Regions from separate parts of the Homo sapiens genome. Here all the other regions are linked to region 1. The links are contacts of gene promoters, found by promoter capture Hi-C in blood cells and fetal thymus (Javierre and others, 2016). All regions are on one chromosome and are shown on one strand. The core of a region is centred on a gene start or on the middle of the fragment in contact, and the rest is flanking DNA. Distances in the headings are between cores, read along the strand shown.

Region 1 (4,253 bases), core at 627-3,126:
CAGAGCTGATGAGCGTTCCGGATACTGAGGAAAGCAAAGTAAATTTCCTGACAGAATGCACAGCTGACCACCAACACAAAGAGCATTGAGACTTGCATCCACATCTGGGAGAGGTTATATCTTTAATAGAAACTAAAATTACATTTTAGCTAAGTCTCTAGAACTTCCTAGCTCCTTGTTTTCACACATTACTTTGTCACTTTTCAATGCCGCTTATCTGCTATTTTAACACTTGAAACGACAGCTTTCTCAAATAAATAACACATTAAAAAGGGCAAGCTAGTACAGAATCCAGTACAGAATCTTAAACCTTTGAAAATCACGGTGGAGACGTGGGGAGAGGAGCACGGACTAATTATTAATCCCACTCCCTACAATTACGGATAAGACACTATTGACGATTCACCTACTACTTACAGCACAACTTCCAGGAACAGTAGCTAAAACCCTCCACACATCTCAACTGAGAAACAACCAAAAAATAACCTCGCGGGAAACCTCAGAAGCGCAGCCCAATTCCCCACCCCCTTCCGCCCAAATCGCCTCAATATGGAAAGGCAGCTGAAGGACACTCCTACAATTTGGTTGTTTTCGTATTTTCAGTACCAAATGCTCGCGACTGAAGTGTCTAAAAGGGCAACCGCCTTGTACTTGTGCAGCTACACTCCAGTTGCTTTACAAACTCTTCAAGCAGGGATGGAAACTTAAAAGAATATTACACCCTGTGAATAAAGAGATACTGGGCTGAAGAATGGGGATGGCAGACCCAGAGGCGGCGGCGGAGGAATACATCGAGAAAGTAACACAAAGCGAGAATTGGGCGGGCAGGGTGGTCAACGCCAAAGCAGCAGCATCGGGGTGGTTTCTCCCCCAAGGATAGGAAGTGAACAGGGCTGGCAACCTCGCGAAGGGAAGGGTGTGGTTCCCCGCGGACAGGGTGGGAAATCCAGGCTGAGGGCAGCGGTGGAATTGGGCGATGGCAAAGGAAACCCCTGGAAATTTCCAATCTAAACCGGGACCGCTCAACCGAAAGAACACCAGAAAGGCACTGCCTAGCAGGGTGCTGCTCAATGTCCCCTCTTCTCGAGGTGACTTGTGGCACCATCGACGAGCTTTTGATCGTCCTCGGGTGATGCAAAGTGAGGATATGATTACATCGGAACGGCACCCCCGCCCTAGATTGGCAGAGAAGGACCAAATCTGGCTAAGGGGAAAAGACTGGGGGGGGAGATGAAGGAGGAGATGGAGGGGAAAAAGGAGAGGCGATGAGCTGGAATTAGGGGAGAAAACCGCTGCAAAGGAGTGAAAGGGCAGGGATTCCAATGCAGTCCATTCCACGACATTCTAAGCGCGCACGTGTGATAAAAGCGCCTGGAGAGAGTGGAATGCTAGAACATTTACGAAATAAAAACAAAGCAAGAAAGGCAGCAAAAAGCAAGCAAGGGAGGAGGAGGAAATGTTCGGGAAGCGGACAACAGCGGAAAACCCGATGTGATCAGATGCCAGTAGACCACGAAAAGCTTAGCAATGTCACTGATGTAATGGGGATGGTTCGAGGGAAGGGAGGGAAGGAGTGATACAAGGTAGAGGACGGCGCGAGACCCCAAGGGGGCATCTGCCAAGGTAGAACGGGACACCGGTACCTGTGCTGTCGGCCACGTTGCCCACGGAAGACGCCATCTGGAGCTTCTCGAGGGAGAGCAAAAAAGAGGTAATTGGTCCTGCTGCCGCCACTACCAGCAAGAACGTATTTGGAGGTAGTAGTACAAGGGCAGCAGCCGTAGCAATGCTCTGGAGGGCTTGAGCGGCGGCAGCAGTTACAGGCTTCAAACCCTGGGAACTCTAATTGACCATCTACCTAGTACGGTCTTGAAATGGCGGCGACGGCTCCTCGGCCGAAACAACATGGGCCGGAACTACTTTCTGTTACAATCAAGTGCCCGCGCGGAGGTAGCCGGTAACCAGCGCCGCCAACAAAATGACTTCAAGCTGCAAAGTCGAGATTCCATGTAGTCCTCCGCGCAGCGCCCATTGCGACAAACACCACGGTGGAGACCGCGCATGCGAGCAGCCCTGTCAACCCGACTCGTGGTTAGGGCACTCTCTGGGGCGGAAGCGGCCAAGTTTCTTAAGAGTGTAGCGGAAGGGTAAAAACAAACACACACGGGACGGATACGTTTTTGCCACCGCGATTAAGAAGAGTGTTTGTTACTTAGCAGGTGGTGTCGTTTTAAACATAAATGCCAAAGGCGTCTAAAAAAGTTTATCAACTGTATTCGTACAAAAACGGATGGTTACGACTCTCACGGATCAATTCTGAGCCAGTCAATTCAGAAGATTGCCTCTCAAAGACAGCTGCTCAAAACGAGGAGCGAGAGGGTTCCGATTTGAGCCCGTCTTCATTGTGACTCGGCCATCGATTTCAGCACTTCGATGAAAAAGACTGAAGCTTTCACAGGGCCAGTTGAATGCAGACACCTTCAATGTTGGCCGTATAGCCTGAAATTTCAAAATCGTTTTGGTATTCAGAATACTCCTGCCCACGGTGATAGGGCAAATGTTTAATAACTCAGGGACATGCTGGGCGTTTGCACTCCGAAGGCAGCCATAAAAATGTTAAAGGTGATTCACGTTCGTCAAAATCCATGACTCTCCTCGAGTTGTGACTTCATTTCCACCAGCTAGCTCTGCACATTGTCACAGTCGGCGATTCCACTGAGCTCAAAGCAGATCAACAATGATAAATGAATTCACTTGCCATCTGCCTAAACCACACGTCTAGATTGAGTCATGAATTGCCTCTACTTCCTTGAACAAATCGGTTCTTACGATCTTCCTGCAGTTTCAAGTCTACTGTTCAGACATTTTGTCACATTGGTATTTATACTTCACCTCTTGTTCTAGAAACGACTTAAGGTAGCTTGCCACATCAGCAAGAAAGTATTACAAGCCACTGGAGGCTACAAGTTGGATCTCTGAGAGCCTTTTTATTTCAAAAAGTCCTTGATCTAAGAAAGCAGGTCAATGAATTTCTTCAAAAAGTTTTTGCTACCTAGCCCCTTCACTACATTTTTTAAAACTAAGTCCTCAAATTCTGCTTAAATTTCTTCAAAACAGTCAACAAACAATTAATTATGGAAATGGCACAGAGAAAATTCATAATGCTAATTTCTTCCATCCCATAATCAAGAGTCACATCATGCAGTGAAAAAGACAAAAATCACTACACAAACTCTCCTGAAAATTGAGCACCAACCTCTTGTAATTTGATTTAACTGGTAAAACCTCCCCCCCGCACACACACACCTACTACAAGTTCCCTATCTGTAATGAGTAAACTCAGCTTTTCAACTTTTAGAAGAGACTTCTCAGATTCCACTGGCAGATGTTTAGGCCTTGCTGATGAGCGGGTGCTAGCTAATTAACAAAAACTCTTTTTGTTGTTAAATGCAGGTCATGTTCCTAATTCTTCAGCCAATAAGTAACATTTACTAGAGTCTCTATGTGCAAGGCACTGTGGGGGGCACAAAAATGAACAGAAATCCTCGCCCTCAAGGAATCTGAAGCCTAGTTAGGTAGACACAAAAAGCTACTAGAGAGCAATACAGAAGACTATTTAGATGATAAAATATATTACTCTCTATGAATATCTAGGGAGGAAACAGGTAAGGTTGGAGGGGGTGAGAAAGAAGCCTTGATCTAGACATTGAAGGAAGTGCTTTTGTATGTTTTTTATTGTTGTTCACATTGATTTCTGGGTTTTTTTTATGTGCAATTTTAAATTTAGAACCAATTATAATTAAATCAGCTGGGTCTTCAACCCCAATCCCAAACTTTGTCACCCAGTAACACCACTGATGTTGCATTACTTTTTTTGCTGCTGTGTAACAAAGTATCACAAATACAGCTGCTCAGAACAACACACATTTCACAGCAGTAGCACCAGCGCTGGATGAGACCCGGGCTGGTGGCTGCTGTTGCACTGCTGCTGAAAAAAAATGGCTCCAAAGGTTAAATGAAGCCAAAGAAATACATAGATGTGAGAGGAGAAGCCAGCTGGACTTCCTGGGTTGGGTGGGGACTTAAAGAACTTTTCTGTCTTACAAGAGGATTGTAAAATGCACCAATCAGCACTCTGTAGCTAGGATTGTAAAACGCACCAATCAGCGCTCTGTGGCTAGCTAGAGGTTTGTAAAATGCGCCAATCAGTGCTCTGTAAAAACACACCAATCAGTGCTCTGTGGCTAGCTAGA
Region 2 (4,253 bases), core at 1,168-3,667, 120 kb before region 1:
GATTTAGGGTATCTGGTGGAAGAAACTTCTAAGCAGCAAAGGATTCAAAAGGTGACTTGCGTGCTGTTAAAAGCATTCAGTTTTAAAAGGGAAACAGCAACTTGAAGCATTCCCTTTGAAAACTGGCACAAGACAGGGATGCCCTCTCTCACCACTCCTATTCAACATAGTGTTGGAAGTTCTGGCCAGGGCAATCAGGCAGGAGAAAGAAATAAAGGGCATTCAGTTAGGAAAAGAGGAAGTCAAATTGTCCCTGTTTGCAGATGACATGACTGTATATTTAGAAAACCCCATCGTCTGAGCCCAAAATCTCCTTATGCTCATAAGCAACTTCAGCAAAGTCTCAGGACACAAAATCAATGTGCAAAAATTACAAGCATTTCTATACACCAAGAACACACAGAGAGCCAAATCATGAGTGAATTCCCATTCACAATTGCTTCAAAGAGAATAAAATACCTAGGAATCCAACTTACAAGGGATGTGAAGGATCTCTTCAAGGAGAACTACAAACCACTGCTCAATGAAATAAAAGAGGATACAAACAAATGGAAGAACATTCCATGCTCATGGATAGGAAGAATCGATATCGTGAAAATGGCCATACTGCCCAAGGTAATTTATAGATTCAATGCCATCCCCATCAAGCTACCAATGACTTCACAGAATTGGAAAAAACTATTTTAAAGTTCATATGGAACCAAAAAAGAGCCCACATTGCCAAGACAATCCTAAGCCAAAAGAACAAAGCTGGAGACATCACACTACCTGACTTCAAACTATACTACAAGGCTACAGTAACCAAAACAGCATGGTACTGGTACCAAAACAGAGATACAGACCAATGGAACAGAACAGAGCCTTCAGAAATAATACCACACATCTACAACAATTTGATCTTTAACAAACCTGACAAAAACAAGAAATGGGGAAAGGATTCCCTATTTAATAAATAGTGCTGGGAAAACTGGCTAGCCATATGGAGAAAGCTGAAACTGGATCCCTTGCTTACACCTTATACAAAAATTAATTCAAGATGGATTAAAGACTTAAATATTAGACCAAAAACGATAAAAACCCTAGAAGAAAACCTAGGTAATACCATTCAGGACATAGGCATGGGTGAGGACTTCACGACTAAAACACCAAAAGCAATGGCAATAAAAGCCAAAATTGACAAATGGTATCTAATTAAACTAAAGAGCTTCTGCACAGCAAAAGAAACTACCATCAGAGTGAACAGGCAACCTACAGAATGTGAGAAAATTTTTACAATCTACCCATCTGATAAAGGGCTAATATCCACAATCTACAAAGAACTTAAACAAATTTACAAGAAAAAATCAAAAAACCCCATCAAAAACTGGGTGAAGGATATGAACAGTCACTTCTCAAAAGAAGACATTTATGCAGCTAACAGACACATGAAAAAATGCTCATCATCACTGGCCATCAGAGAAATGCAAATCAAAACTACAATGAGATACCATCTCACACCAGTCAGAATGGCAATCATTAAAAAGTCAGGAAGCAACAGGTGCTGGAGAGGATGTGGAGAAATAGGAACACTTTTATGCTGTTGGTGAGACTGTAAACTAGTTCAAACATGTGGAAGACAGTGTGGCGATTCCTCAGGGATCTAGAACTAGAAATACCATTTGACCCAGCCATCCCATTACTGGGTATATATCCAAAGGATTATAAATCATGCTTCTATAAAGACACATGCTGACATATGTTTATTACGGCACTATTCACAATAACAAAGACTTGGAACCAACCCAAGTGTCCATCAATGATAGACTGGATTAAGGAAATGTGGCACATATACACCATGGAATACTATGTAGCCATAAAAAAGGATGCATTCATGTCCTTTGTAGAGACATGGATGAAGCTGGAAACCATCATTCTGAGCAAACTATAGTAAGGACAGAAAACCAAACACCACATGTTCTCACCCATAGGTGGGAATTGAAAAATGAGAACACTTGAATACAGGGTGGGGAACATCACACACCAGGGCCTGTCTTGGGGTGGGGGAAGGGGGGAGGCATAGCATTAGGAGATATAACTAATGTAAATGATGAGTTAATGGGTGTAGCACACCAACATGGCACATGTATATATATGTAACAAACCTGTATGTTGTGCACATGTACCCTAGAACTTAAAGTATAATAAAAATAAATAAATAAACAAATAAAAGAGAAACAGCATAAAAGTTCAGAAAATTTGCAGCCTGACAGTTAAGTAGAAAAGAAAAACTCCTTTTTTTGAGGAGAAATTCAAGCCGGCTGCAGAAATTTGCATAAAGAGCAAGGAGACTAATGTTAATCCCCAAGACCCTGGGGAAAATGTCTCCAGGCCATGTCAGAGAACTTCAAGGCAGCCCCTCCCATCACAGGCCCAGGGGCCCAAGAGGAAAAAGTGGTTTTGTGGGCTGGGCCCAGGGTTCCCATGCAGTGTGCAGCCTAGGAACTTGGTGCCCAGCCACTCCAGCCATGGCTGAAAGGGGCCAATGCAGAGCTCAAGCTGTGGCCTTAGAAGGTGGAAGCCCCAAGTCTTGGCAGCTTCCATGAGGTATTGAGCCTGCGGCTACACAGAAGTCAAGAATTGAGGTTTGGGAACCTCTGCCTAGATTTCAGAAGATGTATGGAAACGCCTGGATGCTCAGGCAAAAGTTTGCTGCAGGGGGAGCATTGTGGAGAACCTCTGCTAGGGCAGTGCAGAAGGGAAATGTGGAGTCGGAGCCACCACACAGAGTCCCTACTGGGGGACTGCCTAGTGGAGTTCCCATACAGGTGCACTTGATAATTATTTATTAAACTACGCACATAGATTGTGATGTTTTCTTTCTGTATGTTACTTACTGCCATAAGCAGAGAAAAAATAGTGGTAAGGGAAGTAACATTGCATTAAACAGTCAAGTATTTTATAACCAGAAGGATAACCAAAATTATTTTCTCTATTTATAGCAGATCTCTTTGAGAGTAGTAATATCAGTTTATTGATAAAAATAGTTTTATTTTCATATTCTCATAGATTTCACTAAACATCATAGGAGTGATGCTTACATAATTGGGATATTAATTTCGATGTTTTGGTAAGTATTTTATATTTGGGTGGTAAGTTTTCATTCACAGTTTGTGACTTTGTGCTGGAATCCCATGCACTTGGTACATTTTCTCAGGGGAGATTTGTCACCTCCCCATCCACTTATTCTCAGAGGTGGAGGACCAAGAACTGGAGAAAAAGAAATGACCAAAAAAAAAATCTAAAAACATGTGCCTTCAATGTAATACATGAATTTGACCAGGTGAGGGCAGTGCCGTTTTAAGCTGTTTGCTGGGATGCAAGTGGAGGCAGCTAGTGATCTCATGCCTTTTGAGTTTCTCCTCTTCTCTACTGTTAGCTGCTGGGATTGAAAGGGCCATTTGTGCCAATTAAAATGGAAGCAGTGTTGGCAATCCTTCTGATGGGCTGCATCTCCTTTGCCTGTTTGGCACTTCCATCCTAACGCCAACCTTGCCAGCTGCTTTCCCCAGCAACTCTTTTCTTCCTGTTTCTTCTCCTCAGGCCCAACTAAGACCACTGATGTGCTACACAAAGCACGGGGCCCTGACAAACAGAGAGATAGCAGGCTGGACTGTGCAGCCCTTTGGGGCCTTATTGTTGTGAATAAAGCCAGAGGCATTTTCCTAAAAAGTCAACCTCCATCCCAGGATGAGTTTCCCCTGCTTTTGTTTCTAGCCTTGTACTCCCTGAGGGTGGCTTGAGTGAAGGCTCCACACTGGTTTATGGCATTAATAGGGTCAAGTAGGACGAATGTTGGGATTATTTATTTCATCAATTGATGAAATGAAATAAAAACTATTCTCTGGGGCCAGGCTCAGTGGCTCATGCCTGTCTGGGAGGCCAAGGCGGGCAGATCGCTTGAGCTCAGGAGTTCAAGACCAGCCTGGCCAACATGGCAAAACCCTGTCTCTATGAAAAATACAAAAAAATTAGACAGGTGTGGTGCCACATGCCTGTAGTCCCAGCCACTTGTGGGGCTGAGGTGGGAGGATCGCTTGAGCCTGGAAGGTAGAGCCTGGCAGTGAGCCGAGATCACCACTGCACTCTAGACTGGATGACAAAGTGAGACCCCGTCTCCAAAACACACACACACACACACACACACACACACACACACACACACAAAACTATTACTGGTTCTGGGAGCCACCCCTCTGCCTAGAGATAAATAGCAA
Region 3 (4,253 bases), core at 442-2,941, 100 kb before region 1:
TGTGATTCCCCGTGTACTATGCATGGCTCCCCCCTGCTTTCTCTTCTACTATGCCCAGGCTCCTCAGTACATTGAAAGGTGTATCTTTCTTTATTGTTAGTCATCCCAGACTATAAATCTAGGTATACAAGAAACATTGCCTCTCTTTATTGTTTTTCTATATCAATCTAATTTCAATTCTGCACTCCGTCTTGGCAGAGTCTGGGAAATTCACCCTGAGTCATCCTCACATTTCCTGCTTCCCTGATGTCAAGAAGAGGTCTTGGGACCTTTCACGGTATCAGACATCTAGGGGCAGAGGGGTAGAGGGTCTTGTTGTCTGTAAGTTTCTGCTAAGCCATTCATTCTACCCTGTTCATTGCTGCTTCTGTGGCTGAGGAAATCTGCCAGGCAGCTGGAAGGCCTGCAGTTTCCGGTGCATCTCCCTGCACACACCAAGGGACCACTCCTCTTTGGGGAATTACCAGCTCCTCAGAGTGTTACTAGGAAGCAGGGCCCGGGGACCCACAGCTCTCTCTCTCCTCCCTCTTCTCCTTCTACCCAGGCTGTATACCTCTCCTGAGGCAATAAAGCACATAGCTGGCTTCATTTTGATAAGGTGTGGGGAGAAAGAGGGAAACACAAGGAGGGAAGATACAGGCTTCAGCCTATGGCACCTAAAGGGATAAACTGATTGTCTACTAAAAATACAAAAAAATTAGCCGGATGTGGTGGCACGTGCCTGTAGTCCCAGTTACTTGGGAGGCTGAGGCAGGAGAATCGCTTGAAGCCAGGGAGGCAGAGGTTGCAGTGAGCCCAAATTGCACCACTGCACTCCAGCTTGGGTGACAGAGCGAGACTCTGTCTTGGAAAAAATAATAATAATAAAATAAAATAAAAAGCCAACATCCAATCTAATGTTAAAATACTTAGGCCGGGCACAGAGGCTCATGCATGTAGTCCCAGCACTTTGGGAGGCCAAGGTGGGAGGATCGAGACCAGCCTGGGCAACATAGTGAAACCCGGTCTCCACAAAAAGAAAAAACCAAGCTTAAAATACTTAAGTGGGGGGTGTAGCCCAACATCATGTTTTCACAGGAAATCTCCCAGGGGACATTGCCACTTTTCCTCCTAGGATAACGACCCTTTTCTTCCTAGGCCTCTGTGGTAGGCAGAATAATTCCCCAACTACCAAAGATATCTACATCCACATCCTAACCCAGAACCTGTGTGTGTGTGAGATTACATGTCGAAGGGGAATGAAGATTGCAGATAAAATTAAGGTTGCCAATCAGCACACTTGTGACAGGGATATTCTCTTGGATTATCCAGGTAGGCCCAGTGTAATCTCAGCATCCCTATAAGTAGAAGAGGGAGGCAGAATGAACGAACCAGACAGATGGCAGTGTGAGAAGGACTTGGCCTGACGTTACCAGGTTTTAAGATGGGGGAAGGGGCCATGGGCCAAGGCATCCAGAAGTTGGAAAACGCAAGGAAATAGACTCTTCCCTAGAGCCTCTAGAAGAAACACCAAGCCTGCCAACACTTTGATTTTAGTCCAGTGAGACGCATCTCAGGCTTTTTTTTTTTTTTTTTTTGAGTCAGATTTTCACTCTTGTCACCCAGGCTAGAGTGCAATGGCAGGATCTTGGCTCACTGCAACCTCCGCGTCCTGGGTTCAAGCAATTCTCCTGCCTCAGCCTCCCCAGTAACTGGGACTACAGGTGCATGCCACCACGCCTGGCTAATTTTTTATTTTTATTTTTAGTAGAGACTAAAAATATTATTTGTTTCACCATGTTGGCCAGGCTGGTCTCGAACTTCTGACCTCAGGTGATCCGCCCGCCTCAGCCTCCCAAAGTGCTGGGATTACAGGCTTGAGCCACTGCACCCAGCCCGCATCTCAGACTTCTGACTTCTAGAACTATAAGGTAATAAATTTGTATTGTTTGAAGCCACTAAATTTGTCATAATTTTTTATAGCAGCAGTAGGAAATAAATACAAGCTACAAAAGGAAATCATGGTTTTTAATTTCTTCTTATGATTTTCAGTGTAACTGTTTCCATTCTGGGGCTTGAAGGTAGCCCTGAGCATGGCTGGTATCCTGTTTTCTCCCACACCTTAGGGTGGTGGAGGATGGGGTTAGGACACATGGTCTGCCTCTGGCCCTGGCCTCGTGGGCTTGTAGAAATCCATGTCTCCCCTTTCCCTCTAAGCCATGTAAAAGCCAAGTCTTGACTAGAGATGAGTGTTGACAGCTGCTGGATCTACAAATAGGTCCTCCTTCCAGGCCTGTGGCGGGATTGCACGTCCCAGGGAATCTCTTTAGAGTTAGGTGTGGACATGTGGCTTGCCTTTGCCAATGAAGCTTTAAGACACAGTGTACAATTCATCTCGTTCTCATCCCACTGCTGCAGTGAGCATGAAAGAATGTGCCAAGATGGGGCCACTGTCAGCGCCTGGGTCCCTGGATGACTACAGTAAGCCAAGCCTTCGCTAACCTGTGTTGTACATTTAATGTGAATAAAAAATAAAGTTCTGTTTGATTAACGCTCTGAGGTTTGGTACTTTTTGTTTCACAGCATAGCCTAGTCTGGCTTGGCCTGACAAATCTGGGTCTTTTTTTTTTTAAGAACCAGGGTCTCAGTCTGTCACCCAGGCTAGAGTACAGCGGCACAATCATGGCTCGCTATAGTTTCGAACTCCTGGGCTCAAGTGATTCTCCTGCCTCAGCCTCCCAAGTAGCTGAGACTACAAGCACACACCACCACACCTGGCTAATTTAAATTTTTTTTTCTTATAAAGATGGGCTCCCACTGTGTTGCCCTGGCTGGTCTCAAATTCCTGGGCTCAAGTGATCCTCCCGTCTCAGCCTCCCGAGTACCTGGGACTACAGGCGTGTGCCACCACACCGGGCTCTGGGTCTTACCAGATTCTCTGTCTCCTAGTCAGCCTCTTCACTCATGTGGCCACGAGAGGCAGGGCCTGAGCTTTCCTCATTTCAGACACAAACATGTGCAACGCAGACTCTGGCCCCAGCCTCACAATAAAAAGTGAGAAAAAAAAATCTGCCTTGTTTCTCTCCCCAGGGAGCTGGGAGGCTGAGGGAGCTAGGCCCTGCACAGGACCCACTAGAGAAAGAAAGGAGCATTCCTTTATGGAAGTGCCAACCTCAAAAGGGTGGAAGTAAATCCTTCATGAGGCCTCATACCAGTTAGCTTGAACCTCACATGTACATTTAATACTTTGGCACCAAAAGCACTGGCCCATCCTAAAGGTCAACTTCTCTTGCAGAGAGCCAGAGGAGAGATACTGCAGTCCCTCGCCTCCAGCCTCAGCAGTCATGACAGGGTTATCCCAATCCCCCTGGGGCAGAAGGGAGTAGACACTGACCACTGGGCCTAAACCAGGGGCTTCCCTTTTAAAAAAACAAAAACAGAAACTAACAAACAACAACAATGAAAAACATCTCTTTCCTCCAGGCAACTCCTGGCAGCTCTTGCTAGTCCTCTACGTCTCCGCCGCCCCTGGTCCTGTAGTCTCCATGTAGGGGCCAAGGCTGTGGAACATCAGCGGCTCCAGGGACCCTTTTTCTCTTGTGCTTTTCACTGCCCCTCATGCTTGCTGAGACTTTCTCCCCAGCACAGCCAGTGCTCCTGGACCTTTCACATTCATTATTATCTCACCGAGAAGGTCAAGAGGGTTAATCATTGATGTCAACGTTATGAAACTTGTTACTACTCTTAAAGATGATATTAAACAGCTGTTTTGAAATTCTCATTGCCTCAGCACTATGGTCTAGTGGCTTTCCACTCTTGATGTGCATTACAATTACCTGGAGAGCTCTTGAAAACCACCCAGAGCCAGACACTCTCCCTGGCCTAATTAAACGAGAAGCACGGGGTCCTCATTGCTCTCTATCAGGCATAATTACCTCTCCATGTCTTTGTGCGCTGTGGGTCCTAGTCCCTGACACACAAAAAGAATCAGCAGCAGCACTTGGTCAATATCCAGCCTCATCTCTCCCATCTTGAGGAGGGTCTGACAAGTGTAGCATTCTTTGAAATTTCCGAGAAATTGTTTCTTCCTGTACTCCCTTCCCATCTCCACCCCATTCTTTCTAAAAGCCTGTTTTCCTCAAATCAACATTCCTCAGAATATATTCTGTAGAGAGACCAGGGGAGCTGGGAAAAACACAGTAGTTAGTGACTGTGGTTGGCTGATAATGGCTCCCAAAGATAAGTCTGGTCCTAACCCCTGAAACCTGTGAATG
Region 4 (4,253 bases), core at 1,151-3,650, 94 kb after region 1:
GATATGTTTTTGTAGTCTAATAAAATTTGCACTGAATTCCAAACAATAAAAATAAAAAATAAAAAAAAAACTGGGCCAAAGAAATGAACAGTCACTTCACCAAAGAAAATATACAGATGGGGCTTGGCACCATGGCTTTGGGAGGCTGAGGTGGGAGGATCACTTGAAGCCAGGAGTTCGAGACCAACCTGGCCAACATCATGAAACCCTGTCTCTATTAAAAATACAAAAATTAGCCGGGCATGATGTTGCGTGCCTGTAATCCCTGCTACTCAGGAGGCTGAGGCACAAGAATTGCTTGAACCCAGGAAGGGGAGGTTGCAGTGAGCAAAGATAACAAGAAGAAGAAGAAAGAAGGAAGAAGGGAGAAAGAAGGAGAAAGAAGAAGGGAGGAGGAGAAGACACAGATGGCACATGAAAAGATGCCCAACATCATTAGCCATTAGAAAAACACAATGTATTTGAGGAAATAATTTTAAGACCGAGAGCAAGAAAATGTTTTTAATTTAAAAAAAGAAAAATGCCAAGTAAAATCACAATAGAAGAACAGCTAAAATTTTAAAAAGTGGTAACAGTGAATGCTGCAGAGAAACTGGATCACATACATTGCTGGTGGGAATGTAAAATGGTACAGACACTCCAAAAGTGTGGCACAATCTTTTTGTAGTTCATAAGCTTATGATGACGTAAGTGTGACGACATTGGGTTTTCACGTTCATGTGTGAGATGTGCCTCCCTCAAGCCTTATTACAATGCCAGTACATTTTTTTTCCACATCTGATGTGGAAAAAAAAAAAATGAAATAGTGCCGTGTCTTGTAAAACTAAACATATACCATTCTATTCTTGGGCATTTATCCCAAAGAAATGAAAAATTAAACTCATCCAAAACCCTGTCTATGATTGCTCACAGCAGCTTTACTCACAATGGCAAAATAGTGAAAATCTGAATGTCCTTCAATGAGTAAATGTTTGAACAAACGCTGGTACAACCACACAATGGAACACTCAACAATTTAAAAAATGAACTACTGATACAACAATTTAGATGGACCTCAAGGGAATTATGCTTTGCGAAAAAAGTCAATCTCAAATGGTTACATATTATACTATTCCATTTATATAACATGCTCAAATGTCAAAACTATAGAGATGGAGAACGGATAAGTGGAACAGGAACAGTGGTGGGTGTGGTGGTGGGCATGTGTGTGTGGGGGGTGCAGATACAAAGAACAGGGAGTTCCTTTATGGTAACAGTTCTAAGTCTTGATTGTGGTGGTGGTTACAGGAACATATATATGGCACGAAATTGCACACACTTATGCACAAATGAATAGATTTTTAAAATGGTGAAAACTAAGTTTTGTAATTTATTTAAAAGTAATGTACCAATATAAATTTCCTGGTTTTGATACTGAAGTACAGCTATGTAAGATATTGCCATTGAAGGAAGCTGAGTGAGAAGCCCACAGGACTCTGTACCATTTCTTGCAACTTCCTGAATCTATAATTATCTCAAAATAAAAAGGATCAGAATACATTCATGAGCAAAAAAGAGCAAATTACAGAATAAAACAAAAACTTGAAAACCTACATGTAATTTTCTTTTTGACTGCTCTTGCGGAACAGGGCTACCCTATAGGCAGTGTGCTGAGAGCAGCGTAATAAGTAAACACGTTTTGTCTAAGCATAGAAAAAAGTACCTAAGACTATAGACCAAGCTGTTATCTCTGGGGAAATGAAAATATGGGAGACAGGAGTGGGAGGGCAGGCAGAGGCTTTAACTTTTAATTTTATGTATTTCTAGATTATTTGATCTTTTTATAAGAGATTTTGCTTTTTTGTTTTTTAAAAGGTCTACCTGACAGAAATGTAGATGATAGGTTAGAAGGAGATAAATGTAAAGGCTGGGACATTCACCAGGCGACTAGGCAAAATGTAATGTGAACTTTAGTGACATACTGGATGTTGGAACTTATTCAAAGTGAAGAATTAAAAAAAAAGAGTTTCCTAGACGTAGCTACTGGGTAATGTTAATGCCCCATTAAACCCAGATTGGAAATTGTAAATGAGTGATTCAAGTAAAGAAGGAGAGAGGGAGAAAGTTGGAATAAGGAAGGATAGGAGGAAACAATAATACATTCAGCTTGAGGTATGTTTTAAGTTCCATTGAGACATCCAAGAGGAAATGTTTGGCAAGTGGCTTTGTCTACAATAGAGTCATCAGGAAAAGAGGTGGCAACTGAAGTTACAGGAGTGGGCAGAACATTCAGCAAAGGAGATTAAAAAGGAATAGTTTAAGAGGTGGGAGGAAAATAAGGGCTTTTTTATTTTTGGAGTCTTGCTCTGTCACCCAGGCTGAAGTGCCGTGTCATGATCTTGGCTCACTGCAACCTCTGCCTCCCAGGTTCAAGTGATTCTCCTGCCTCAGCCTCCCAAGAACGCTGAGTGCATTCTCATACCACGTGCCACCACGCCTGGCTAATTTTTTTGTATTTTTAGTGAAGACGGGGTTTCACCATGTTGGCCAGGCTGCTCTCGAACTCCTGACCTCAGGTGATCCACCCATCTCGGCCTCCCCCGGCCAGAGCTAAAAATTGTCATGGAAGCCAATCACAATACTGTTGTGAGGAAAGAATGGTCAATGATGTCAAATACTAGGGTGAGGTCAAGATAAGGACAGAAAAGTGCCCACTATATCTGATAATTATGTGATCCTGTTTACTTGGTAGACTGGACAGGGTGGAAGCCAGCTTAAAGCTAAGCGAGGCATTACTGGAAGACAAAGAAAATAGTGAGAGACGTTACATATTCATAAAAGAAGTCTGGCTGTCATAAAAAAGAATGAAACTCTGATACATGCTACAACATGGATGAACCTTGAAAACATGGTAAGTAAAACAAACCAGACACAAAAGGAAGAATATTGTATATAATGTATGATTTACTTATATGACATACCTAGAATAGGCAATTTCATAGAGATAGAAACTAGAATAGAGGTTACCAGGAGCTGGGAAGAAGGGGAGTTACCATGTAAGGGGTATAGAGTTTCTGTTTGGAATAATAAGAAAGTTCTGGAAATACACAGTGGTAATGGTTGCACTACACTGTGATTGAACTTAATGCCACTGATTTGTACACTTAAAAATAGTTAAAATGACGGCTGGGCATGATGGCTCATACCTGTAATCCCAGCACTTTGGAAGGCTGAGGGGAGGTGGATCACCTGAGGTCAGGAGTTTGAGACCAACCTGGCCAACTTGGTGAAACCCCGTCTCTACTAAAAATACAAAAATTACCCGGGCGTGGTGGTGCACGCCTGTAATCCCAGCTACTCTGGAGGCTGAGGCAGGAGAAACGTTTGAATCCAGGAAGCGGAGGTTGCAGTAAGCCAAGATCGCGCCACTGCACTCCAGCCTAGGAAACAGAATGAGACTCCGTCTCAAAAAAAAAAAAAAAAAAAGTTAAAATGACAAATTTTTATATTATGTATATTTTCCATAATAAAAAAGTCTGTATGGAAAGAGAAAGAGACAAGATGGCAGCAAGAGACCCAAGCAGGATCGGGGGAAGTTTTTCTTCTCTTCAATGACATGAAGGACTTAACTTTCATATGGAAATATTTCTCTTTTTCTTTTTTTTTTTTTTGGAGACAGAGTCTCATTCTGTCGCCCAGGCTGGGGTACAGTGGCACGATCTCAGCTCCAGGTGCATGTCACCAGCACCAGTCCCGGCTAATTTTTGTATTTTTAGTAGAGATGGGGTTTCACCATGTTGGCCAGGCTGGTCTTGAACTCCTGGCCTCAAGTGATCCACCCGCCTCAGCCTCCCAAAGTGCTGGGATTACTGTTGTGAGCCACCAAGCCTGGTCAGAAATACTTATACCTTGGGTCCCAATCACTGATGGAAAAAAAAGACCCTTATTATTCATGAGTGGCCAAACTTACAGAGTAGTACCCTCATAACAAAGACTTAGAAACTAGTATTATGGAAATACTTTAAGCATTATATTTAACCTATGAACAATACTGAATCATCTATTCATATTCTTCAAATTGAAACCTTTAGACTTAATAACCAGTTAGGAAAAAAAGAGTACAAGCACAATGGCAGCAAAGCTTTTAAATTTTATATTGAATATCGACAATGAAAAATAAATAAACAAAATAAAAACTTTTAAATTACCTAGGAATAAACTCGACAATGAGAAATTCAAAAGCAACAAAAACTATCAAATTAAATAAATTAAAC
Region 5 (4,253 bases), core at 975-3,474, 85 kb before region 1:
TCCACGAAACCGGTCCCTGGTGCCAAAAAGGCTGGGGACTGCTGATTTAGAGGACCCACATTGGGTTGTCAACTTCTGCCATCACAAGATGTTTCCAAAACTACCATCTATTTTCCCCATCATTTCATAAAGAAAAGGCCCTTTTGATACCAAAAAAAGGGGACAAATAACATGATTGCTGAATATAAGACAGACCTTTAAATGGAACAAATGTGGCTTTCCATGGTCAATTTTCTCATTTGCAGAAGCCCATGGAACTCAAACCTCTTCACAGGTCAGCACTGGGAGACTGTGGTCCCAGCTCCCAACCCTTTTCCACCCCCATAGGTAGCTACTGGCCAAGTCCTGCTCATCCTAACTGGCCTGGTTTCTGGAATCCTTCCTGCTCCCTCCACTGGCACTGCTCCTGACCTCTGCCAGGCCCTCAGTTCCCTCTGGCCTGAACCCTGCAGGTGACAAGCTGTTTAGAGCAAGGAGAGTCACATCTGTCCACAGGAGGGGAAGGGCCTTGATGCCTTGCAAGTATGCCTCATGTGGGTGTAAATTTAATTCCAGGCCCTAGCCTGGAGGCTTTGGTGGGGCAGTCTGGCTGAAAACTGGCCCCAAGACCATGGGCTAGCACTTGCTTTTCTCTCTCTCTCTCTTCTCTCTTCTCTCTTCTTTCTCTCTCTCCCTCCACCCCTGCTTTCCAACTAGGGGAGAGAGAGAAAGAGGAAACTGCTTGGGAGAAGCAAATTACGGGCAGCCTTGCCCACTGGTAATGAGAAGAGGGCGACAGGGAGGGGAGAAGAGGGCAAAGGGGAGAGCTGAGGGCAGGTGGGGAGAGGAATTGTTCACCATTCTCTGCCATAAAGTGACTGATGTGCTGTACCAAGGCTGCCTTACAGCTTTTCCTTAAGATCAAGAAGTTCCTATGGCCTCCTCCCCAACCCCATCCTCCTTCTTGCCCGAGAAGCAACTGCTTTTATGAATTTGTGGTATCTCCTGTCCCTGTTTTAAACCTCGAGAACCAACAGTGTTATCCAAAACAACATGGTATTGATTTTGTGGTGGTTTTTAGAGTTTATGTAAGTGGCATCAAACTATACATGGCATTCTGTAACTTGCTTCTTCTACCATGTGATCGTTGGCTTTTCTAGATGCATCCATGTTCAAATGTGTAGCTTTAGTTCATTTGTTTTTAACTGCATGAATATATCATAGCTTATTCACTTAAAAGAAACTGAAGACAGTGTTCATGAGTAGGAAAAGGAGAATCAGACAGCCGTGGGATCAATCCTCACGCCCACCTTTAATTGCCGTGTCTGGCGAAGGCCTGTCCCCTTTCTGAATCATCCATGCAGATAACCCCGCACGTCACAAGTGAGTTGTGTGGTTGAAATAAGGCAGTGTCGGAGAAAGCACCTAAAGCAATGTCTATCACATAGCAAGTTCATTACTGGTAGTTCCCTTTCTTTTTCCCCACTGATTAGCAGGGAGAGGTGGTGGTAAAAAGCTAGATTTAGTGTAACGGCTTTTTAAAAAAATATTTTAATTCCCTTTTTAAGAGACAGGGCCTCACTCTGTCACCAGGCTGGAGTGCAGTGGTACAATTATATCTCAAGGCAGACTTGAACTCCCGGGCTCAAGCAATCCTCCTGTCTCAGGCTTCCAAGTAGTTAGGACTACAGGCACATGCCACCATGCCCGGCTGGCTTTTTTTATTTTTGGTAGAGATGGAGCCTCGCTATGCTGCCCAGGCTGGTCTCAAACTCTTGGCCTTAAGTGATCCTCTTGCCTCAGCCTCCCCAGTAGCTGGGATTACAGGAATGAGCCACTGCACCTAGCTGAAATTTTTAAGAAGGTGGATCTCCTCTGCAGACTTATTTCTCTACCCAGCCTTTACAATCATGCAAAGATCAACTCAAGGCCAGGACAGATGAGTTCCAATCTATGGAGCACTGACCCTACCAGTGCAGGCAGTAGGGTTGCCCTTCACTTCTCAGCTGCATTGCTTCCTCTTCAGACCTCTCTTCTCAAAGGACCTGCCCCCAGCCAGTCATCCTCTGCCCAGCTTTTCTGGTCCCAAGCTTGTAGCCAGCTCCTCCAGAGAGGTTTCACCCAGTCACGGAAACTCTGTGGCCTGAGGTTTAGGGAGGTCTGGTAGAGGTAACTCCCTGGAAGAGGCTGCTGCTGAGAACTGCCTGAAACTCCCACTTCCTCTGTGACTGCAGGTTTCCAACCACAAGCACCAAAGCAGAGGGGCAGGCAGCACACCACCCAGCAGCCAGAGCACCAGCCCAGCCATGGTCCTTGAGGTAAGTGCTGCTGCCCAGCCAGGCCAGGCCAGAATTCGAAGTGGAAAACCCGGGGCATCAGGGGAATGCCAGGGCTGGCCCACAGCCCAGGGTCACCACAGGGTTGGGTGAGTAGCTGGAGGCCGCATGGGTTGTGGCAGAAACAGCACTGGGGAATTGGGAACCCAGCTTGGCCACTGACCCTGGGTGCCTCTCCTCTCCTCTCTGGCTTCGGTGTCTCGTCTGCAAAATGGGGGGGGCGGGGGGCAAGTAGACTCGAAGGCTCCCTTCAGGAGACTTGGAACTTTGACTCTTGGCGTGCTGGACTAAATTGGTACTGGGGAGACCTGCAGGTCCATAGTGCTGGGGGTGAGGGGATAAAGAAGATTCCTTCTCAAGCTAAGTGGGGGATCCCCTTGTGGGCAGCTAAATGGCCGTGCAAGCCTCAGTGTAGGGAGGGGGAAGGACTGGGCAGACTGCATGCATTTGGGGGGCGTGGTGACTTGTAGAGAGGCCACACGGTGGGGGGGGGCGCAGGAAGTTGGGGTCCCCGGACAAGGGCCAAGGAGGGAAGAGGAGGGTTAGTGACTGGAAAAGGGGATTGTGGAGAGGCGCTGGGGAGGAAGGTGGTTGAACTATGTGTTGGGGGTGGGGCACTGAGGACGCAAGGCAAGCCTGAAGGGAGAGCAGGGAGAGAGAGGACAGTGGGCAGAGAGGGCTCTGGGCACTGGAGGGACGCTCTTCTTCCTGCCCAGGGGTCCCTGGGCCGATGGGATCACGCAGAAGAATGCGAGAGAAGCAGCCTTTGAGAAGGGAAGTCACTATCCCAGAGCCCAGGCTGAGCGGATGGAGTTGAGGAAGTACGGCCCTGGAAGACTGGCGGGGACAGTTATAGGAGGAGCTGCTCAGAGTAAATCACAGACTAAATCAGACTCAATCACAAAAGAGTTCCTGCCAGGCCTTTACACAGCCCCTTCCTCCCCGTTCCCGCCCTCACAGGTGAGTGACCACCAAGTGCTAAATGACGCCGAGGTTGCCGCCCTCCTGGAGAACTTCAGCTCTTCCTATGACTATGGAGAAAACGAGAGTGACTCGTGCTGTACCTCCCCGCCCTGCCCACAGGACTTCAGCCTGAACTTCGACCGGGCCTTCCTGCCAGCCCTCTACAGCCTCCTCTTTCTGCTGGGGCTGCTGGGCAACGGCGCGGTGGCAGCCGTGCTGCTGAGCCGGCGGACAGCCCTGAGCAGCACCGACACCTTCCTGCTCCACCTAGCTGTAGCAGACACGCTGCTGGTGCTGACACTGCCGCTCTGGGCAGTGGACGCTGCCGTCCAGTGGGTCTTTGGCTCTGGCCTCTGCAAAGTGGCAGGTGCCCTCTTCAACATCAACTTCTACGCAGGAGCCCTCCTGCTGGCCTGCATCAGCTTTGACCGCTACCTGAACATAGTTCATGCCACCCAGCTCTACCGCCGGGGGCCCCCGGCCCGCGTGACCCTCACCTGCCTGGCTGTCTGGGGGCTCTGCCTGCTTTTCGCCCTCCCAGACTTCATCTTCCTGTCGGCCCACCACGACGAGCGCCTCAACGCCACCCACTGCCAATACAACTTCCCACAGGTGGGCCGCACGGCTCTGCGGGTGCTGCAGCTGGTGGCTGGCTTTCTGCTGCCCCTGCTGGTCATGGCCTACTGCTATGCCCACATCCTGGCCGTGCTGCTGGTTTCCAGGGGCCAGCGGCGCCTGCGGGCCATGCGGCTGGTGGTGGTGGTCGTGGTGGCCTTTGCCCTCTGCTGGACCCCCTATCACCTGGTGGTGCTGGTGGACATCCTCATGGACCTGGGCGCTTTGGCCCGCAACTGTGGCCGAGAAAGCAGGGTAGACGTGGCCAAGTCGGTCACCTCAGGCCTGGGCTACATGCACTGCTGCCTCAACCCGCTGCTCTATGCCTTTGTAGGGGTCAAGTTCCGGGAGCGGATGTGG

Evidence for each region. The method cuts DNA at HindIII sites, captures the fragments that hold promoters and counts their contacts. A CHiCAGO score of 5 or more calls a contact.
Region 2: a fragment that was not itself captured here is called in contact with the fragment with the promoter of OGT in region 1 in 7 of 17 cell types (total CD8 T cells, activated CD4 T cells, total B cells and 4 more); the score reaches 7.4 in total CD8 T cells.
Region 3: a contact is called between a fragment that was not itself captured here and the fragment with the promoter of OGT in region 1, in 1 of 17 cell types (naive CD8 T cells). The highest score is 6.1, in naive CD8 T cells.
Region 4: a fragment that was not itself captured here is called in contact with the fragment with the promoter of OGT in region 1 in 14 of 17 cell types (megakaryocytes, total B cells, erythroblasts and 11 more); the score reaches 13.3 in megakaryocytes.
Region 5: a contact is called between the fragment with the promoter of CXCR3 here and the fragment with the promoter of OGT in region 1, in 4 of 17 cell types (naive CD8 T cells, non-activated CD4 T cells, activated CD4 T cells and 1 more). The highest score is 10.6, in naive CD8 T cells.

The regions. Positions count from the first base shown.
Region 1 is chrX:71,530,727-71,534,979 of GRCh38, reverse strand. It overlaps OGT (O-linked N-acetylglucosamine (GlcNAc) transferase), which reads right to left and starts at 1,876. Exons shown (of 22, transcript NM_181672.3): 1 at 1,644-1,876. The coding sequence starts at 1,680. RefSeq lists enhancers at 1,302-1,960, 1,786-2,125, 1,626-2,825. The HindIII fragment of the contact is 929 bases long and covers 1,523-2,451 here.
Region 2 is chrX:71,651,732-71,655,984 of GRCh38, reverse strand. No RefSeq gene overlaps it. Among named protein-coding and RNA genes, the nearest start is that of CXCR3, 35 kb to the right of the region's middle. The HindIII fragment of the contact is 6,979 bases long and covers 1-4,253 here.
Region 3 is chrX:71,632,623-71,636,875 of GRCh38, reverse strand. No RefSeq gene overlaps it. Among named protein-coding and RNA genes, the nearest start is that of CXCR3, 16 kb to the right of the region's middle. The HindIII fragment of the contact is 1,319 bases long and covers 1,032-2,350 here.
Region 4 is chrX:71,437,047-71,441,299 of GRCh38, reverse strand. All of the region lies in intron 32 of TAF1 (TATA-box binding protein associated factor 1), which reads right to left. It also overlaps the pseudogene LOC124905281. Among named protein-coding and RNA genes, the nearest start is that of TAF1, 73 kb to the right of the region's middle. The HindIII fragment of the contact is 3,445 bases long and covers 678-4,122 here.
Region 5 is chrX:71,616,482-71,620,734 of GRCh38, reverse strand. CXCR3 (C-X-C motif chemokine receptor 3) reads left to right here and starts at 2,224. Exons shown (of 2, transcript NM_001504.2): 1 at 2,224-2,297; 2 at 3,276-4,253. The coding sequence starts at 2,286. RefSeq lists an enhancer at 4,225-4,253. The HindIII fragment of the contact is 3,713 bases long and covers 2,072-4,253 here.